Linked DNA regions of Homo sapiens: all the other regions are linked to region 1. Evidence: promoter capture Hi-C in human tissues and cell types (Jung and others, 2019). All regions are on one chromosome and are shown on one strand. The core of a region is centred on a gene start or on the middle of the fragment in contact, and the rest is flanking DNA. Distances in the headings are between cores, read along the strand shown. Region 1 holds the start of HAND2 (heart and neural crest derivatives expressed 2). Region 2 has its middle 36 kb from the start of LINC02269. Region 3 has its middle 84 kb from the start of LINC02269. Region 4 has its middle 54 kb from the start of LINC02269. Region 5 overlaps LOC105377543 (a long non-coding RNA gene). Region 6 has its middle 120 kb from the start of LINC02269. Region 7 has its middle 15 kb from the start of LINC02269.

Evidence for each region. Contacts are between HindIII fragments. The study calls those that stand out against the background at their distance.
Region 2: a fragment that was not itself captured here is called in contact with the fragment with the promoter of HAND2 in region 1 in 2 of the 25 tissues and cell types used here (H1 embryonic stem cells and mesenchymal stem cells).
Region 3: a fragment that was not itself captured here is called in contact with the fragment with the promoter of HAND2 in region 1 in 1 of the 25 tissues and cell types used here (dorsolateral prefrontal cortex).
Region 4: a fragment that was not itself captured here is called in contact with the fragment with the promoter of HAND2 in region 1 in 2 of the 25 tissues and cell types used here (H1 embryonic stem cells and spleen).
Region 5: a fragment that was not itself captured here is called in contact with the fragment with the promoter of HAND2 in region 1 in 3 of the 25 tissues and cell types used here (H1 embryonic stem cells, aorta and mesenchymal stem cells).
Region 6: a fragment that was not itself captured here is called in contact with the fragment with the promoter of HAND2 in region 1 in 3 of the 25 tissues and cell types used here (heart right ventricle, lymphoblastoid cells and stomach).
Region 7: a contact is called between a fragment that was not itself captured here and the fragment with the promoter of HAND2 in region 1, in 1 of the 25 tissues and cell types used here (heart left ventricle).

What each region holds. Positions count from the first base shown.
Region 1 is chr4:173,528,807-173,531,506 of GRCh38, reverse strand. It overlaps HAND2 (heart and neural crest derivatives expressed 2), which reads left to right and starts at 1,278. Exons shown (of 2, transcript NM_021973.3): 1 at 1,278-2,700. The coding sequence starts at 2,218. HAND2-AS1 (HAND2 antisense RNA 1) reads right to left here and starts at 1,136. Exons shown (of 5, transcript NR_136196.1): 1 at 968-1,136; 2 at 429-540. The HindIII fragment of the contact is 12,639 bases long and covers 1-2,700 here.
Region 2 is chr4:173,860,023-173,862,722 of GRCh38, reverse strand. No RefSeq gene overlaps it. Among named protein-coding and RNA genes, the nearest start is that of LINC02269, 36 kb to the left of the region's middle. The HindIII fragment of the contact is 3,563 bases long and covers 1-2,700 here.
Region 3 is chr4:173,812,304-173,815,003 of GRCh38, reverse strand. No RefSeq gene overlaps it. Among named protein-coding and RNA genes, the nearest start is that of LINC02269, 84 kb to the left of the region's middle. The HindIII fragment of the contact is 4,331 bases long and covers 1-2,700 here.
Region 4 is chr4:173,842,312-173,845,011 of GRCh38, reverse strand. No RefSeq gene overlaps it. Among named protein-coding and RNA genes, the nearest start is that of LINC02269, 54 kb to the left of the region's middle. The HindIII fragment of the contact is 4,048 bases long and covers 1-2,700 here.
Region 5 is chr4:173,969,985-173,972,684 of GRCh38, reverse strand. The region is part of intron 1 of LOC105377543 (a long non-coding RNA gene); the gene reads left to right. The region is part of intron 2 of LOC105377544 (a long non-coding RNA gene); the gene reads right to left. Among named protein-coding and RNA genes, the nearest start is that of LINC02269, 74 kb to the right of the region's middle. The HindIII fragment of the contact is 6,623 bases long and covers 1-2,700 here.
Region 6 is chr4:174,020,127-174,022,826 of GRCh38, reverse strand. No RefSeq gene overlaps it. Among named protein-coding and RNA genes, the nearest start is that of LINC02269, 120 kb to the right of the region's middle. The HindIII fragment of the contact is 3,426 bases long and covers 1-2,700 here.
Region 7 is chr4:173,880,527-173,883,226 of GRCh38, reverse strand. No RefSeq gene overlaps it. Among named protein-coding and RNA genes, the nearest start is that of LINC02269, 15 kb to the left of the region's middle. The HindIII fragment of the contact is 3,094 bases long and covers 1-2,700 here.

The sequences.
Region 1 (2,700 bases), core at 29-2,528:
ACTCCTTCGGGTGGAATCTGCATATACACATCAGCCTCCCCTCTCGGCTTGGGGCCAAGCCTGGGGTGATTTCAGCTCCTGCCATTTACCACCCGCCCTCGCCGCACGTGAGCCTTCTCAAGAAGCTCATGCCACACGGGCGCTGCGGCCCGGGTGCCCCGCGGCCCGGTGACTTACAAGTGGAGATCCATTTTCCGTTATAATGCGTTCAAGATCACCAAGGCCAGCAGTCTCAACATCCACGAGCCGTCCTCCCGGCCTGCCTCTTAAACTGGCGTTTAATGGTTCCCCTCCGATAACTAAACCTGCTTTCCACAGATGCCCGCTTTTATGAGGGAGGCAGGAATGCAGAGATATATTTATATGTTTGTTCATAAAAACTGGAAAATAAGCTCTGAACACGCCGTAAAAAATATTCAGTTACTTACCAAACAGGCTAGTTAAACCAGGGGAACACCGATACCAGCCACACTACAGATTCGGGGAATCGAGGTGCCCGCACTTCAAAATCGCCCAAGGTCTTCGTAGGGACTGGTGTCCCTGAAGGATGTGGAAATAACAGCATTTACAATCGGCTTGACATGTTCGCCCGGAGGACTCAGCCGTCATCTCCAAAGTTTGCCGCAATAACGTGAGCCACCCCAAACAGCTCTAACCGGGGTAACTTGGTGGGTAACTCAATAGCCACTGAGACCGGCGTTTCGAGCCTGTAAACGGGTCAAAGAAACACCCTTCTCCAGCCGCTCCTCGTCCCTGCTGGGGCAAAGAGCGCCAGCTCCCAGCCGCGCCTTTGTGGGGGCCCCCACCGCCCGTCACGAGGCTCCCGGCGCCCCTGCATAAAATTGTAAGAGGCTGCCTGCGTATATTTTCTTACCTCGATTACCTACAAAGCACTTCGAAAAGCAATACCTGCGTTTTCTTTCTTTCTTTCTTTTCAACCAGAAAAGAGAGCAGAGTGATACTGTACCTGGTTAGAGATTCTTCAATATTTGAGACTTGGGGGGAAAATATTTTAATAGTGAAGCATCTGTTAAACACTTGCATTATCCTCTGACTGATAAAAAAAGTTTTTTTAACCCTGCCCCCCCCCCCCGCCAAGTTTTAATTATCTTATGGTTATGAGGAGGTAGCCAATCCTGGAAGAGGACCTCGGCAATTAGCAACGTGAACATCAAAAAGTTTTATTGCCGAGAGCTCGAGGCGCCGCCCCTGCCGCCCCGGGATTGGCGTGAGGAGCCTCTGACGACATATATTAACCCGAGCGGCCCTAAAGATGTAGCTGTACATGGAGATCTTGCTGGGAAAATCCGCTTGCTCCCCTCACGTCGTCCAGCCCAGGAGAACCACCGCCGTCACCCCGGAGCTTCCTCGGCCACCGCGCAGAGCCCTCCGAGAGCCCGAGCCGCGGTCTTCGAGCTCCAAGGCTCATTCAGGGCCCCAGATCCTTGCCCCGAAAGGAGAGGATCTGAGAAAATGGATGCACTGAGACCTCTCTGAAAACCCTCCGAGAGAGCGCGAGAGGAGCGAGGACACGTTACTCGCAGCTAAAATCACATTTAAGGACCAAAACAACAACAACCAAAAATTTCATTAAAACAATAAGCGCCCAAGAACCCAGATCGGGCTGGTGGGGGGAGGGGAAGAGGCGGGAAGGGGAGGGTCGCACGGAGGTAGCTTTGCAGTGAGCAGTCGACCCCGCCGCCCCCCGGCACAGCTGGACCGGCTCCTCCAGCCGCGGCTCAGACTCGCCCCTGGATTCCGGGTTAGCTTCGGTGCCAGGACCGCGGCCCGGGCTTGGATTCCCGAGACTCCGCGTACCAGCCTCGCGGGAGCCCCGGCACCTTTGTATGAGCACGAGAGGATTCTGCCTCCGCGCAGCAGCCCGGGAAGCAGGAGCCGAAGCGCGGGCCGTGGAGCAAGGCGGGAACCGGAGGCGGCGGCGGCGGCGGCCAGGGGCGCACGGTGCCAGGACCAGCTCGCCGCGCCCCATGGGGAGCCGGCGGCCGCAGCGCTGCTGAGGCGGGCCCGGCTGGCCAGGCGGGGGGACGGGGCCCGGGCTGCAGCAGCCCCCTCTGCGGCTGCCGGGCGGGCCCGGGCGCCCGGGGGCTGGGGGGTGGGGGGTGGGGGAGGACGCCGAGCGCTGAGGCAGGGGCCCGGGCCGAGGGCGCGGCGGGGCTGCGCGCACGCTGGGGCGCGTGGAGGGGCGCGGAGGGCGAAATGAGTCTGGTAGGTGGTTTTCCCCACCACCCGGTGGTGCACCACGAGGGCTACCCGTTTGCCGCCGCCGCCGCCGCAGCTGCCGCCGCCGCCGCCAGCCGCTGCAGCCATGAGGAGAACCCCTACTTCCATGGCTGGCTCATCGGCCACCCCGAGATGTCGCCCCCCGACTACAGCATGGCCCTGTCCTACAGCCCCGAGTATGCCAGCGGCGCCGCCGGCCTGGACCACTCCCATTACGGGGGGGTGCCGCCGGGCGCCGGGCCCCCGGGCCTGGGGGGGCCGCGCCCGGTGAAGCGCCGAGGCACCGCCAACCGCAAGGAGCGGCGCAGGACTCAGAGCATCAACAGCGCCTTCGCCGAACTGCGCGAGTGCATCCCCAACGTACCCGCCGACACCAAACTCTCCAAAATCAAGACCCTGCGCCTGGCCACCAGCTACATCGCCTACCTCATGGACCTGCTGGCCAAGGACGACCAGAAT
Region 2 (2,700 bases), core at 73-2,572, 330 kb before region 1:
AAACTATATTTAATTCTGCCTTTAAACCTTTAGTCAAACTGTTCCTGTATTCCTTCTGCCTATGCATACTTCATAGTTTCAAAATACCTTAGCCATCCTCAAGTATCACTAATAACACCTAGTAACACCAATCTTCTCTGAACTCCTGATCCTCCAATATAATATTAAATAGCAGTTCTGTGAATGGATATACTAAGCTCATTCCTAATGTTAGGGAGAAAGTATTCAATCCTCTACCATTGAGAAAGATGTTAGCTATAGATTTTCATAGATGCTTTTTTTAAAAAATCAGATTGCAGAAGTTGTCTTCTTTTCCTAGCTTTTCTAGAATGTTTATTATGAATGGTTATTGAGTTTTCTCAAATGAATTTTCTGCATTTTTAAGGTGATCTTTTGCTTTTGCTTTGTACTCTATCAATGTGGCCAATTACACAGATATATTTTCAAATATTGACTCAACCTTGCATTCCTAGGATAAACTTCATTGGCTAGGTTAAATTGATAATATTTGGGAGTATTTTTGGTCTATATTTATGGGCTATATTGGTCTGTAATGTCCTTTTTAAAAAATGTATTTGTGGCCGGGTGTGGTGGCTCATGCCTGTAATCCCAGCACTTTGGGAGGCCAAGGCGGGCGGATCATGAGGTCAGGAGTTCAAGACCAGCCTGACCAACATGGTGAAACCCCATCTCTACTAAGAATACAAACAAAATAAAATAGCCTGGCATGGTGGCATGCACCTGTAATCCCAGCTACTCGGGAGGCTGGGGCAGGAGAATCATTTGAACCCGGGAGGCGGAGGATGCAGTGAGCTGAGATGGTGCCACTGCACTCCAGCCTCAGTGACAGAGCGAAACTTTGTCTCAAAAAAAAAAAAGTATTTGTGAGGTATGTCACTAGGGTTGTTTTGATTTTATAGCATGAGTTGGAAGTGACTTACTATTCTGTCTTCTGAAAGAGTTTGTATACAATTGGTATTAATTTATCCTTAAATTTTGTATAGAATTCAGTGTTGAAACAATCTGGATACAAAGTTTTTTTTGTGAAAAGTTTTTTTATTATAAATTAAATGTCCCCAATAAATGCAGAACTACTCACATTTTCTATTTCTTCTTCAGTAAGTTTCGGTTAGTTGAAATTTTAAAGGAATTTGTCTATTTAATTTACACTCTCAAATTTGTTGTCATGAGGTTGTTTATGATATTTTATTATTTTTTACGCTTATAGGATCTGTGGCTATATTCCTTTCATTCGTAATATTGACAATTTGTATTTTCTTCCTTTTTTTTGGTTATTCAAGAAAAAGGAATGAATAGTTGATAACGATGAGGTAATGAAAGAAGACAAACTTTTAAAGAAGTTTAAAAGTGAAAAGAGAAACTAAATCACAAAGGTTAATGTTTGTTCATCATTTACTATGTGCCAGGCTGTGTACTAAATTCTTACCTTTGATCTCCACACTATAATTATATAAGTGGGTGACATGGTTTGTCTGTGTCCCCACCTAAATCTCATCTTGAATTGTAACTCCCACAATTCCCACGTGTCATGGGAGGAACACAGTGGGAGGTGATTGAATTATGGGGGCGGGTCTTCCCCTCGCTATTCTCATGATAGTGAATAAGTCTCACAACATCTGATGGTTTTTAAAAGAGGAGTTCCCATGCACGAGCTCTCTCTCTTTGCCTGCTGCCATCCACTTAAGACATGACTTGCTCCTCCTTGCCTTCTGCCATGATTGTGAGGCTTCCCCAGCCACATAGAACTGTAGTCCATTAAACATCTCTTTCCTTTGTAAATCGCGCAGTCTTGGGTATGACTTTACCAGCAGCATGAAAATGGATTAACACAATGGGTCTTACAAGTTTCACAGATGCATGAATTTAAGCTTTAAAAAATTAAGTGACTTGCTTTAAATGACTCAGTGAAGAAGCACTGCAACAAGTAAGAGAAATTAGAGTCTTAAAGAAATGTTTTTAAATAAACAAAGGAGTGATTTAATTTGAAAAAATACATGAAAACATTTTAAAAGGTAAATACACCAAATGTTATCAATGTTTTTCTCTCTATGGAGTAGTTTTTATTTTATTAAAAAATTTGTATTTTCCCTTCTACAATAAGCATAATCAAAAAAATTGTCTTTTATAAAAAGAAAACTGTTAAGACAGATAAAATTAATTATGTTTTCATGCAGGGCAGGAAGAAGCAGGGCAAAGTGCTACCATTTGAGGGACTGGGATCAAGAAGCAATAATTTATTCATTCAACAAATGCTTACTGAATTTCTACTTTGTTACAAGGAAGCGAAAAAAAGAGAATGAACAAAAGAAGACAGGATAATTAAGAAGACAGAAGCAATGAGCAATGAAGTAGAGAGAATTCCCATGAAGTGATCTCATTCTCATTAAAATAGAAAGTGAAGTCAGTGGGTAAATGTGAGGGTGGAGGTGAGTCTAGGACCTTGAGTATGTACACAAAAGTGGAAAAGATCACTGTGGTTTGCTTTGAAGCCCAGAAGCAAAAGTAGAGAGGAAAGAAAACAGAGGCTGTCCAGAGTCGAAGAGTGTCAAGATGAAAAGGCAAGGGTCAAGAAGATAAATGAATTTTGAAGCCAGATTGACCTTTCATTTTCTTAAAACTCCAATGTGGAAGTTACTATGGATGGGTGGAGATAAAAGAGAAGATCCTGGAGTTAAATTA
Region 3 (2,700 bases), core at 56-2,555, 280 kb before region 1:
CTTTTTTAATCCAGACGTTTACAGCTCTAAGTTTTCCTGTAAGCACTGATTCAGTTGCATTCTATAAAGTTTAGTATACAGTGAGCCCTGAAACAACACAAGTGTTAGGGGTGCCAACCCCCTGCGCAGTAAAAATTCATGTGTAAGTTTGACTACCTGAAAACTTAACTACTAATGGCCTACTGTTGACCAGAAGCCTTACCGATAACATAAACCATTCATTAACACATATTTTATGTTATGTGTATTATGTACTGTATTCTTACAATAAAGTAAGCTAGAGAAAAGAAAATATTATTAAATTGTAAGAAAGAGAAAATATATTCACTATTCATTAAGTGTCAGTGGATCATCATAAAGGTCTTCATCCTTGTCGCTTGCACATTGAGTAGGTTGAAGAGAAGGAGGAAGAGAAGGGGTTGGTCTTGCTGTCTCAGGGGTGACGGCAGCACAGGAAACTCTGTGTCTAAGTGGACCCATGCAGTTTAAACGCGTATTGTTTAAGGATCAACTGTATTGTGTTTTTTGTTTTCATTTATCTCAAATGAATTGTTTTTAATTTGCTAATTCCTCTTGTGATTTCTTCTTTAATATGCACTCTTTTGTTTCTGGTTGCTTTGTTCATCACTATGTCTGGTGAGATTTATATAAGTTGCTGCTTATAACAACAGTTTATTATTTTTATAGGTATTTCATATTGTTTAATGAGTATATTGCAATTATCCATTTTACTGTTGAAGGCACTGGTTTTTTTTTTCAATTTTTCTCTTTTAAGTAAAATTCCCATGTGTTTTGGTGTACAAACAAAGCCATTTGTCTTGGATATATTTTTCAGAGTGAAAATACTCAAGTTAAGCTTAGTTCTAATGCAATGTCATGAGTCTATGATTCCTATTGTGGAACTCAATAGATTGAATTCTAAGTAAAAAAGAAGTCATACGAGTTGCTGTACATAAAGTAGTTGGAAGGTTTTATCTAAATGCTTCTACTTTACTTGCTTAATATTTTGGGGGCATAATGCAATTAAGTTTTTATATGTATGTGTAATTGGTCTGCTCTTGTGAGAGTTTTGGGTGGGTCTTTATTCTTAGAGTTTTCATTTTTTCATTATGTTCAACTATTTTAAATAGTCAAATTAACTTTATAAACTTAAAAGTGAGCAGTGCAATACATGCTTTTAAGTTTGATGCTAGATTGAAAGAAAGTGAAGAAAGGAGCTTGGGTTAACAGATAGATGCTGGTTTTATTTTTAATCATTGTCCATCTGACATGATAAAATATTAATAGACTTATGGGATAAATATTCAGAGTAGTAAAAAATATTAGAACAAGAGTGCAATATCAATAAACATAACAAGTTTGATATATGAGGTAATTGGATCTTATGTTTACATAAAAGCAACAGCAATATATCAAAGATATATCTTCAAACATACTTATAGAAAGCATATATGTGAAAATATGAATTTAACACTCACTTTGCCCTGAAGACCAAGGTGCACTTTAAATGTAATGAGTTGGGAGCAAGAAAAGTTCTAGTTTCCTATGTTTTCCTGTTGAAAATAATATGAATGTGAGTGAAAGTTTCAAGTTTCAGTGTATCTGAAAGTTCATTTAGGTTCCACTACAAAGTAAGCAGATCTCTAGAGATGAGAGCTGATAGAAGGAAGCATACAATTAAGGCTACCCCTAAGTTATCTTAATGATTGCAACTTTTTTTCAGAAGCAACCCTTCAGGAAAAGTCTCTATCTAATCACAAAATCCAAATGGTCTCTTTTCTTGTACTCTTTTCTTCGTGACCAGGAGTGTGTGTGGGAAAATAACCAAAGTGTTCCTAGGAAGCAGATCACTTAGTAGAGAAAAATAAGTCTTTTCAGGCTACCTTCATATTCTTACACTCTCTTGTTTCCTTTAGGATTATTTTGAAGACACGTCTCACACATTCATTAAGAAGTAATATACTTAATGTTTTACTTTGCATTTGTTAATAATTTTAGTGTTTCCCTTAAAAAGACTTTTGAAATTTGCCCTGGATTGCAGCTCATTATTTGGTAATTACGACTGAATAAATTGTATTCCAGTCTTCACTAATTTCATTGGGTTTTCTACTATAAATGTATTTTCTGGAAAAAAAAATGTAGAATAAATGAAAAAAAGAAAGCAACCCAGGGAAGACAGAAATTTTAAATTTACCTAAAGGCAGACCAGCAAGGGTAGCTTTCTAAAACCTTCTTCTCTCAGCCATGGCACAGAGTCTTTATGAGGACATGATATAAAAATGCAGTTCACGATCAACAAGTCTTAATAGTAGTTCTGTTCTTAAGAGGGGTAAATGAATAGACTTTGAGATACACAATTTTTTTTTATTAATTGCCTATTACATAGATAACAAATTTTGTTAAAACATTTATTCTTAAATCCAATAATGTTTCATCTAACCAAGTATGAGATGATAAGACACATCATCATTGTTGTTGCCATGTATTTTATTATAACCTTCTCTGTAATTATCAACAATGGCATTTGTTTATATCATTAGAAAATATTAGAGAAAATAAAAGTAATAAATATATTAATAATAATAAGCATTGGTTTTTATTGCCAATATCTGTGTGTTTTTAGAGTGTTAATGTTTATGCCAGGAGAAGCCTGGTCAGGCTGTATTTCATTTCTATTAAAATATTTAATATTTTATTTCA
Region 4 (2,700 bases), core at 19-2,518, 310 kb before region 1:
CAGCTTCCAATAATATTTCCTTCACTTTCTTCTATGCCTTTACTGACAGCTCCTAAGGCCGTTAGGATTCTAACACTTTTCTGGAGACCCTTCCAATTTTTACTAAAATGCTCTTCGAGATCAAGCTCCTGTCTTCCACCCAGTACCAAAACCAATGCAACATGCTTTAGATTTTTGTTACAGCAGCACCTCACATCCAGGTGTCCAATTCTGTCCCAGTGTATTAGTCTGTTCTCATGCTGCTGATAAAGACATACCTGAGACTGGGCAATTTACGAAAGAAAGAGGTTTAATGAACTTACAGTTCCATATGGCTGGAGAGGCCTCACAATTATGGCAGAAGGCAAGGAATAGCTGGCCATGTCTTATGCGGATGGCAGCAGACAAAAAGAGAGAGCTTGTGTAGGGAAACTGCTGTTTTTAAAACTATCAGATCTCATGAGACTTATTCACTGTCATGAGAACTTCACAAGAAAGACCTGCCCCCATGATTCAATTACTTCCCACCAGGTCCCTCCCACAATATGTGGGAATTCAAAATGAGATTTGTGTCCCCACAGCCAAACCATATCATTCCACCCTTGGCCCCTCCCAAATTTCATGTCCTCACATTTCAAAACCAATCATGCCTGCCCAATAGTCCCCTAAAGCCTTAACTCATTTCAACATTAACTCAAAGTCAAGAGTCCAAAGTCTTATCTGAGACAAGTCCCTTCTGCCCATGAGCCTGTAAAATCAAAAGCAAGTTAGTTACTTCCTAGATACAATGGAGGCACAGACATTGGGTAAATACAACATTCCAAATGGGAGAAATTGGCCAAAACAAAGGGGATCCATGCTCCAGGCAAGTCCAAAATCCAGTGGGGGCAGTCAAATCTTAAAGCTCCAAAATGATCTCCTTTGACTCCATGTCTCACACCCAGGTCACGCTAATGCAAGACCTGGATTTCCATGGTTTTGGGCAGCTCCACCCCTGTGGCTTTGCAGGGTACAGCCTCCCTCCCAGCTGCTTTCACAGGCTGGCATTGAGTGTCTGCGGCTTTTCCAGGTGCATTGTGCAAGCTGTCAGTGGACTTACCATCCTGGGGTCTGGAGGACACTGAGCCTTTTCTCACAGCTCCACTATGTGGTGCCCCAGTGGGGACTCTGTGTGGGAGCTCCAACCCCACATTTCCCTTCTGTACTGCCCTAGTAGAGGTACTCCATGAGTGTCCCCATCCTTGCAGCAAAATTCTGCCTAGACAACCAGGCATTTCCAAACATCCTCTGAAATCTAGACAGAGGTTCCCTAACCTCAGTTCTTGACTTCTGTACACCTGCAGGCTCTACGCCACGTGGAAGCTGCCAAGGCTTGGGGCTTTCAACCTCTGAAGCCACAGCCCAAGCTGTACCTTGGCCCCTTTTAGCCATGGCTTGAGGGGTTAGGACACAGGGTACCAAGTCCTTAGGCTGCACAGAGCAAGGGGCCCTAGGTCTGACCCATGAAACCATTTTTTTCCTCATAGGCCTCCAGTCCTGTGGTGGGAGGGGCTGCCACAAAGATCTCTGAAATGCCCTGGAGACATTTCCCCCATTGTCCTGGCAATTAGCATTTGGCTCCTTGTTACTTAAACAAATTTCTGCAACCGGCTTGAATTTCTCCTCAGAAAATGGGCTTTTCTTTTCTATTGCATTGTCAGGCTGCAAATTTTCTGAACTTTTATGCTCTGTTTCTCTTTTAAAACTGAATGCTTTTAACAACACCCAAGTCAGCTTTTGAATGTTTTGCTGCTTAGAAATTTCTTCTGCCAGGTATCTTAAATCATCTCTCAAGTTCAAAGTTCCACAAATTTCTAGAGCAGGGGCAAAATGCCACCAGTCTCTTTGCTAAAACATAACAAGAGTCATGTTTCCTCCAGTTCCCAATGAATTCCTCATTTCCATCTGAGACCACCTCAGTCTGGACTTTATTGTTCATACCACTATCAACATTTTGGGCAAAGCCAGTCAATAAGTCTCTAGGAAGTTCCAAACTTTCCCACACTTTCCTGCCTTCTTATGAGCCTTCCAAACTGTTCCAACCTTTGCCTGTTACCCAGTTCCAAAGTTGCTTCCACATTTTCAGGTATCTTTCTAGTAGCGCCCCACTCCCTGTACCAATTTACTGTATTAGTCTGTTCTCATGCTGCTGATAAAGACATACCCAAGACTGAGCAATTTATAAAAGAAAGCGATTTAATGAACTTACAGTTCCACATGGCTGGGGAAGCCTCACAATCATGGCAGAAGGCAAGGAGGAGCAAGTCACATTTTAGATAGATGGCAGCAGGCAAAAAGAGAGAGCTTGTGCAAGAAAATTCCTATTTTAAAACCATCAGCTCTCTAACACTTATTCACTATCACTAGAACAGTACAGGAAAGACCTGCCACCATGATTCAATTACCTCCCAAAGGGCCCCTCTCACAACATGTGGGAATTCAAGACAAGATTTGGGTGGGGACACAGAAAAACCATATCACCCAGTTACTGTTGTTACATAACAAACCACTCCAAAACTCTGTGATCTAAAACAGCAACATTCAGTGTATTCTCTCTCATGGGTTCTGTGGGTCAAGATTTGGCAAGGGCTTATCTGTGTGGTTCCCAATCAGATTTTTTCATTAGAGAGACAAGTTTGGACGGAGCTTGTGCATCTCTTTATGTAATCTCAGGGCTTCTTC
Region 5 (2,700 bases), core at 59-2,558, 440 kb before region 1:
GATCCAACACCAAGAGAGACTCCCTCAGCTAGAATTATTTCCCATAAGGGAGAGGAGAACAGAAAAATCCCAGCAGACTTTGCCAAGGACCCCAACAACTCTTGCAGCTGCAACCACCACCGACATCTGCAACCTTGGTTGCCAAGGACCTTCACAGCCTTTGCTCACATTGACATTGATGGAATTGCGAGGCGGCTGCACTGCTGTCCCCAACCCAGAAATGGAAGTGGTGCACCTCATTTAGTTGGCACCCTTGTGGCCATCCAAAGATGACAGTCTTTTTCCACTGAAGCCAACCCAAAAGGAAGAGGTGACTGCTGCTTCAAATGTGAAGATATCAATGCAAAGCCACTAGAAGCATAGAAAAAAATGAAAACATGACATTATCAAAGGAACACAATAATTTTTCAGTAACTGACTCCAAAGAAATGGGGATATATGAAATGTTATTCCTTTGTTATTAACTGAAAATAACTCAAAACAATTATTATAACCAAGCTCAGCAAGATAAAAGAGAACACAGACAACTCAATAAACTCAGGGAAAAAAATTATATAGCAGATGCACAAAAGATACAGAGAAAGGAATCAAAGTATACCACTACAAAAAAATAATCAATTCACGAAAGAAGACAGCAAGAGATGAAGAAAGGGACAAAGGAACTACAAAATAATTAGAAAATAATTAACAAAATTGCAGAAATAAGTTCTTACCTATGAATAATTACTTAAAATGTATATGGAATAAATTAATCAAAATACAAGAGCGGCCGAGTGGATTAAATAAATGAGACTCAACTATATGCTGCTTACAATCATTTTAGCTTTAAGAATACTGACAGGTTAAAAATGAAGGAATGGAAAAAGATATTCCATGTAAATGGAAACCCAAACAGAGCAGAGCTAGCTATGCTTATGACAGCCCAAATAGACTGTAAGTCAAAAACTGTCACAAGACACAAAAAAGCTTATTATATAATTATAAAGAGGTCAATCCATCAAGAAGATAAAACAATTGTAAATCAGTATGTACCCACCATGGAGCACCTAAATATATAAAACAAATAATAATAGAAATGAAGAGAGAAATAGAAAGCAATGCAAGTATAATAGGAAACTTCAACACACCACTTTGAACAATGGATAGATTACTCAGACAGAAAACCAAAAAAAGAAAAATGAAACATTGAGCTTGAACTACACTTTAGACCAGATGGACCTAACAGACATATACAAAACATATGTAAATATCCAACAGCAGCTGAACAAACATCTCAAGTGAACATGGAACATTAGGATAAATAAGTTAAGTCACAAAACAAGTCTCAACAAATTTAAGAAGATTGAAATCGTATCAAGTATCTTTTATAATCACAGTGGTATGCCACTAGAAATCAAGAATAGGAAGACAATTGAAATATGGAGAAATATGTGGAAATTAAACAACAACCTCTTGAACAACTAATGTGTCAAGGAAGGCAGAAAAAGGTAAATCAAAAAATATGTTAAGACAAAAATGGAAATACAACATGCCAAAAAGTATAAGAAACAGCATAAGCAGTCCAAGAGGGAAGTCTATAGTGATAAATGTTTACAGTAAGAAAAAGAAATATCTTAAATAAACAATTATACTTTACACCTCAAGGAACCAGAAGAAGAAGATCATACTAAGCCCAAAGTTAACAGAAAGAAGTAAATAATAAAGATTAGAGCAGAAGTAAATGAAATTGAAATTTAAAAAGATAGAAAATATGAATGAAAATTGATCGACCAGATTTTAAAAATTGACAAAATTTTAGCTAGACTAACCAAGAATAAAAGAGATATGACTCAAAAAAGAAAGAAATAAAATTATTTATTTATTTATTTTATTATTATTTTTTGAGATGGAATCTCATTCTGTCACCCAGGCTGGAATGCAGTGGTGTGATCTTGGCTTACTGCAACCTCCACCTCCTGGGTTCGGGCAATTCCCCTGCCTCAGCTTCCAAAGTAGCTGGGACTAAAGACATGTGCCACCACGTCTGGCTAATTTTTTGCATTTTTTCAGTAGAGACGGGGTTTCACCATGTTGACCAGGGTGGTCTAGAACTCCTGACCTCAAGTGACCTGCCCACCTCAGCCTCCCAAAGTGCTGGGATTACAGGTGTGAGCCAATGTGCCCAACTGTAAATTTATAAATAAAAGGAGACATTACAATGATAACACAGAAATACAAGGGATTATAAGAGACTACTATGAGAATTTTTATGCCAAAAAATTGTTTAACCAAAAAATCGATAAACTTCTGGAAACATACAACTTACCAAGACTGAATCATGAAAAGATGGAAAATCTGAACAGCCCTATAACAAAGAGACTGAATCAGTAATCAAATACCTCCCAAAAATGAAAAACCCAGGACAAAATGGTTTCACTGGGAAATTCTACCAAACATTTAAAAAATTAACACCACCTAAAACTTTTTAAAAATTGAAGAGAAAGGACCATATTCAAACTCATTTTATGAGGCCAACATTATTCTGATACAAAAGCCAAATAAGAGCACTACAAGAAAAAAAAAATTAAAGGCCAATATGTCAGATGAACATAGACGCAAAATCCTCAAGAAAATATTAACAAAAGTCAAGTGGAATTTACCCCAGGATGAAAAGATGATTTAACATATGCAAATCAGTAAAGGTTATGCATGTTGTTAACA
Region 6 (2,700 bases), core at 149-2,648, 490 kb before region 1:
TAGGCAGTTGCTAGTAGGGATTCCCAATATTCATAAACCTCAAAAGGTAAAACTGTGGTACTTCTGCATGAAAATATAAAACATAATAGAAAGTCCATAAAGAAAAATATATACAGGAATCTAGCATACAATAAGGATGTCATCACAAGTAAGTGAGAAAAATGAAGCTTTTAATTTTTATATGGTTAAAATGATCAGTGTTAATTTTTTCATGACTACCGGATTTTGTATGACAGTTAGAAAAGTCTTTCCCAATCTGAAGTTATAAAAAAACTAGTCCAGGGTTTCTGTCTCATGTTCATTAAAAAAAAATAAATTTATTACTGGTGTTAGAACAATTAGCTAGCATCTGGAGTAAGTTAGCATTGCACATCTTACACCAGAATAAATCCCAAATTGATTAAAGGTTGAATTTAAAAAATAAGACCATGTAAGTACAAGAAAATATCATTGAATTCTTTTATGTCCTTGGAATGAGGAAGACCTTTCTTAATAAAATACAAAATCTAGAAGTCACTAAAGATGAAAAGGATAATTTTAACTACATAAAAATCAAGAAATTCTGCATGGAAAAAATACTACAAGCAAACTCAAAAGATAAACACAAAATCGGTGGTGGTGGTAGAGGGTTGATTGTAATTCATGTCACCAACAAAGGCTAATTCCCAAATATATAAATAACTTTTAGTAATTGAGATAAACTAACAACCTCCCCCAAAACAGTTAAGATCATCCACAGATAACTACATAAACAACCCACAAACATAGCAAAAGAAGCAACACCTTAACAGTAATGTGAGAAATGCAAATGTTACTTAAACAGAGGTATGATATTTTACATATTTTATTAGCAAAAACCCAGAGGTTGACATATTCTTCTGGCAAAACTGTGGGGAAACTAGTATCCTCATGCATTGTTTTTAGGATTCCAAAATGGAACAACTCCAAAGGAAGGAAATTTGATACTATTTACCTAAATGCATTTAACTTTTCTTAGTAATTCCACCACTGGAACATCATCCTACAGATGCACATGGGTATTTAAGAAGTAACGTATATTAAATATTATTAATTGCACGATTGTTTACAGCACTAAGAAGTTGGAAACTGCTTAAGTATCCAACAATAGGCACTGGTCCCAGAGATTCTGGTGTATCCACACTACACAGGCTTAGGCAGCAATAAAAAAAAAAAAGGATCTTTTGGTACTAAAATAGTCAGGTCTCTAACATTTTTTATTAAGTAATTAAAGAAAGCAATAGTACAATATTTATAGTAAGCTATCTTTTGTATAAGAAAGGAGAAGATTATATATATACATTTGCTTATATATTTATAAAGTATTAAAAGAATACACAAAAAAACTAGTAAATCTGCTTATATACAAGGGAGTGGATGGGGACAGATGTAGAGGTCTTCTCTCTGTATGTATTTATGTTGTTCTGATTTTTGAGCCATGTGAGCACACCTCTTCAAAAATAACATACATGTGTATATGTATATACAAAGTATACATAATTTTAAAATTCTAGATTCAGAATGTCTTTCTGGAACTCTGAATACATTTATGAATAAATTCCTCTATTCTCTTCTAAAATCTGGTTGGTAAAAGTCTAATGCAGTCTGATTCTTGATTCTTATTTCTTAGTAGGCAATTCTTTTTCTCATTCTCCATCTCTCCCTCTCTCTTTTCCCTTTCCATTCTCTCTTTTTGGAGGCTTGTCTAATTTTTTCCTTTTTTTAATTACGAAATTTCATCAGGATGAATGTGCTCAGCATTTTGAGTTTTCTCTCAATCTAAATATGAGTGAATGTTTTTTAAGTTTGGAGTGTTTTTTTTTACTCCTAATTATTTGATTTTTTTTTCTCTTTACATTCTGGAAGATTCCCATGCCTTTATCACCTACTTCACCAAAGCATGATTCTTATATGTAAATACAGCTTAAGTATGTGAATGATTCCCAAACAGACTGTACATTGCTGGGAGAAAAAATTAAGAGATCTAAACAAAAGAGGTTGTATTCACATTATGGAATTTATAGCCAAGATATATGTTCTTTTAAACTTCACACTCCCTACTATTTATCATCTCCTCCCCAAAAACCCAAAGATCTCTTTCATTAAAAGGCAATAAAAATGTAGGGAAAGCACCTAAAAATAGCTCTCATGTTTCTTTTGACTGGCTTTCCCAAAGATGTATAAACTAAGAACATATAAGACAAATGTTTTCTACTGAAACTTCACATACAAAAATCCTGCACATTTATCACAAATACGGGAAAAATCTCTAAGTAGGAATGGATAAGAGCAAAGTCAGTTAAGAATTATCTACCATACAACTCCTTTTCTAGCATTTTGGAGGAAATACAGGAAATGTTTTATCTAATATTCTATATAATTATAATAAAATTTTGGAATGTTCCAACGTATTCAAAAAATTAACATAATTGATTTCATATTTGAAGCCAGAAGAAAAGTGGGCAAATGGCAGTGATTTGGCAGTTCCTACTCTTAACACTGAACTGCCTTTGTGCTAGTTTCGGTTAAGTCTATTAAGCTTATTAAACTTAATGCTTATTGTTTTCTTTTAACAGATATGTTAAGAGGCTTCAAGTTTTTACTACAATAGTATCTTCCTTTTAACTTTGGGGTTATATTAGTTTCTTTCAGGTTGACCTGATACTCCGTAAGTGAACATAT
Region 7 (2,700 bases), core at 34-2,533, 350 kb before region 1:
TTGGCACAGGTGTAAAAAGAAAAAAAAAAAAACCTCTAATTTGAGGCCTAGACCCCAGATAAGGCCTTTCTAGGTGGATTCCAAAAGAAGCAAGAGTCTTCAATAGCTCCCTTTCACCAACAAAATTAAATCCAAGATTCTTGATGTTCAAGCCCCTTGATCTGGCCCTTCCCAACACTCTGCTCCCAGCTCTTGCTTCTCTTTTTCTTACACTTACACTCCAGCAACATGTTTTTCCCATCCCCTACTTTTGTTCCTGTAGTCCCCTCAGCCTGAAAGCCTCTTCTTCTATTCTTTGCTCGGCTTGCTCTTAGGGATCCTTACAGTCTCTGCCTGGAACGTTTTCTCTGGCCCCCTGAATTAAGATACTCTGTCGGGGTTCTACTGCCCATGGGTCGCTGTCTCTTAATCACCTGTTAGTGTGACCATCTCACATAGTGAGTGAGTACCTTGAGGACAGGGACTTGGATGCATTTCTTGGGTCTCCTAAGCCCCTCTCAGAGTACCTGGTAAAGTGGATGCTGGATGGATTTTTAAGAATTTCTAAAAATGGAAGGAATGAAAGAATGAAACCATCATCAGTTCTTTTGTAAAACGTTACCAAATAATTTAAATTCTAGCAGAACCATAGTCCCTTCATGTAAGGTATGAAGCCATGATTTAACTGCGTATATCCAATAAGTCACATTAAATGTTTTTTTTCATTTCACCAGTCTAAATGGAGTTAGAACAAATGGCTGAGAACACAACAGGTATCATTCTTGAATGCAAAAACAAGACAAAGCACAAAATAGGATGACTACAGTGAGATGTTTTATTCTCCTTAGTTGAAAAGCTTAGAGTTGAAACTGGAGAAATATTAGAAATTGTACAAAATTAAAGATGGATTATTTTGACAGGATTAAACTTAGTAGAAGCCACTCTTTTTTATTTGCTACCAAATTGCGAGGTCTCACATTACTTGAGCTCTACCAACCTCTTTACTGTTACATTAGCTTGCTCCACTTTCCCCACGGCTGCTATGTACAATGCGAAGGTCATGCATTTGAGCACTCAGCCAAGGAGGTGATGGGGCCGAAATACAGCCCACATGCTGTTCAACAATCCATGTGCCCTGGTGCAGTCTGCACCCACTTTGACAAAAAGGTGCACAGAGACACTGAGTAGGCAAGCTGGGCTCTGACTCACTTCACCTCCTGTACTGATGCCACATGGACCTTCTCTCAGGCTCACCACAAAGCCTTTCACATATGCCTGTACCCCTGCCTGGAATTCTCCTTGTTCTCTTTAGCTCATCGTTCATATTTCAATTTGAGCCGCCTTTTATCAGGGAAGCCGAACGTCTATGACTGAGTAGGACAGTGCTCCTATGGTTAGTAAGCTTTCATCAAGCCATAAACCTCCCTGTCACATTTCCAGGTTGATGATTGTACAATCACTAGATGTACGGCTCTCTCACTATATTGCAAGCTCTATGAAGACAAGGATGGAGTCCATTTTTTACTGCTATTGTACCCCCAGAACACATGGCAAAGGTTAAATAAATGATTGTGGAATTAACAAATTAATTCACACAGAGCACATGGGGCACATAAATTTTGTTGAATGATTGAATTGCTGTATTTCACTCCCAAGTGATTTAGCTGATATTAAAAATAAAATAATAAAAATCAAGTATAATATTCTAATTCCTCTACACACTTTGGACATGATTGGCTTTTGATTTGGTTTGTTTCATCATTTCATAATGATCTTCATCTTCATCTTCAAGGTTTAGTGTTAGGGGAATAAATCAATACTTGATTTTAGCATCTTAAAGGTCAGAAACACAAAGTTTAGTTATTTAATCATCTGTCAAATCAGCAAAAGTTTAATGCTTTATGTACATGCTTTCTATACAATTTGTTGGAATAAAAAATTAATGCTTTATTAAATAGTGAAGATAATATGAACTTTCAATAATGCAGACAGGTTGATTATAACTGTAAACCACATGCTTATATACTTCGGACTTTTACAGCTTTTAATTTATCAAAGGAAATAATTAGCACACTTTGTGGCAGCTAGTGATGGAATTTATTCATTTGGAAGGCCATGGGTTTCCTGTCATTAAAACTACATCATGTCCTTCCTTTTCTATTAAACTTCCACTGAGGGCAGTAAGAAGTCACTAAAAGGAAATGAAGAGTCTTTTTGGCAATGTTTTTGTACAATGATTTAATACTCTTAAAAGATAGCAAACCCATAATGTATGCCAACAAGTATATTATATAAGATGAGGGGCCCAATTACCACATTATTTCCTTTATTTGAAGTTTCATCTGAGACTCAATTAACTGTGATTTGCAAACTCTTGTCAATAAATTTAGTTTCTTTTTACAGGTTAATGCATTTTTTTGTTTTCATTAGTAATGTTTCACTCTAGCAAAGGAATAGATTTAGATTCCATAACCACTGTATACAGTTTTATATGTCAAAGGATATTACTTTCCTCTCCACATGATCAATGGCATCTCATTAGCCAGAGAATCATTGTAGTTAAAGCTCACACATATTTTTTTTCTCACTGAAAGGATTTTCAGTGAGATTAACTACTAATTCTAATCTTTCTTCTGCTGAGATAGTACTAAGGTTTGATCTTGACTTTGTTCCAAATATTAGAACCATAGCTGTTAATAAATGCTCTCTGGTTTGGGAAGG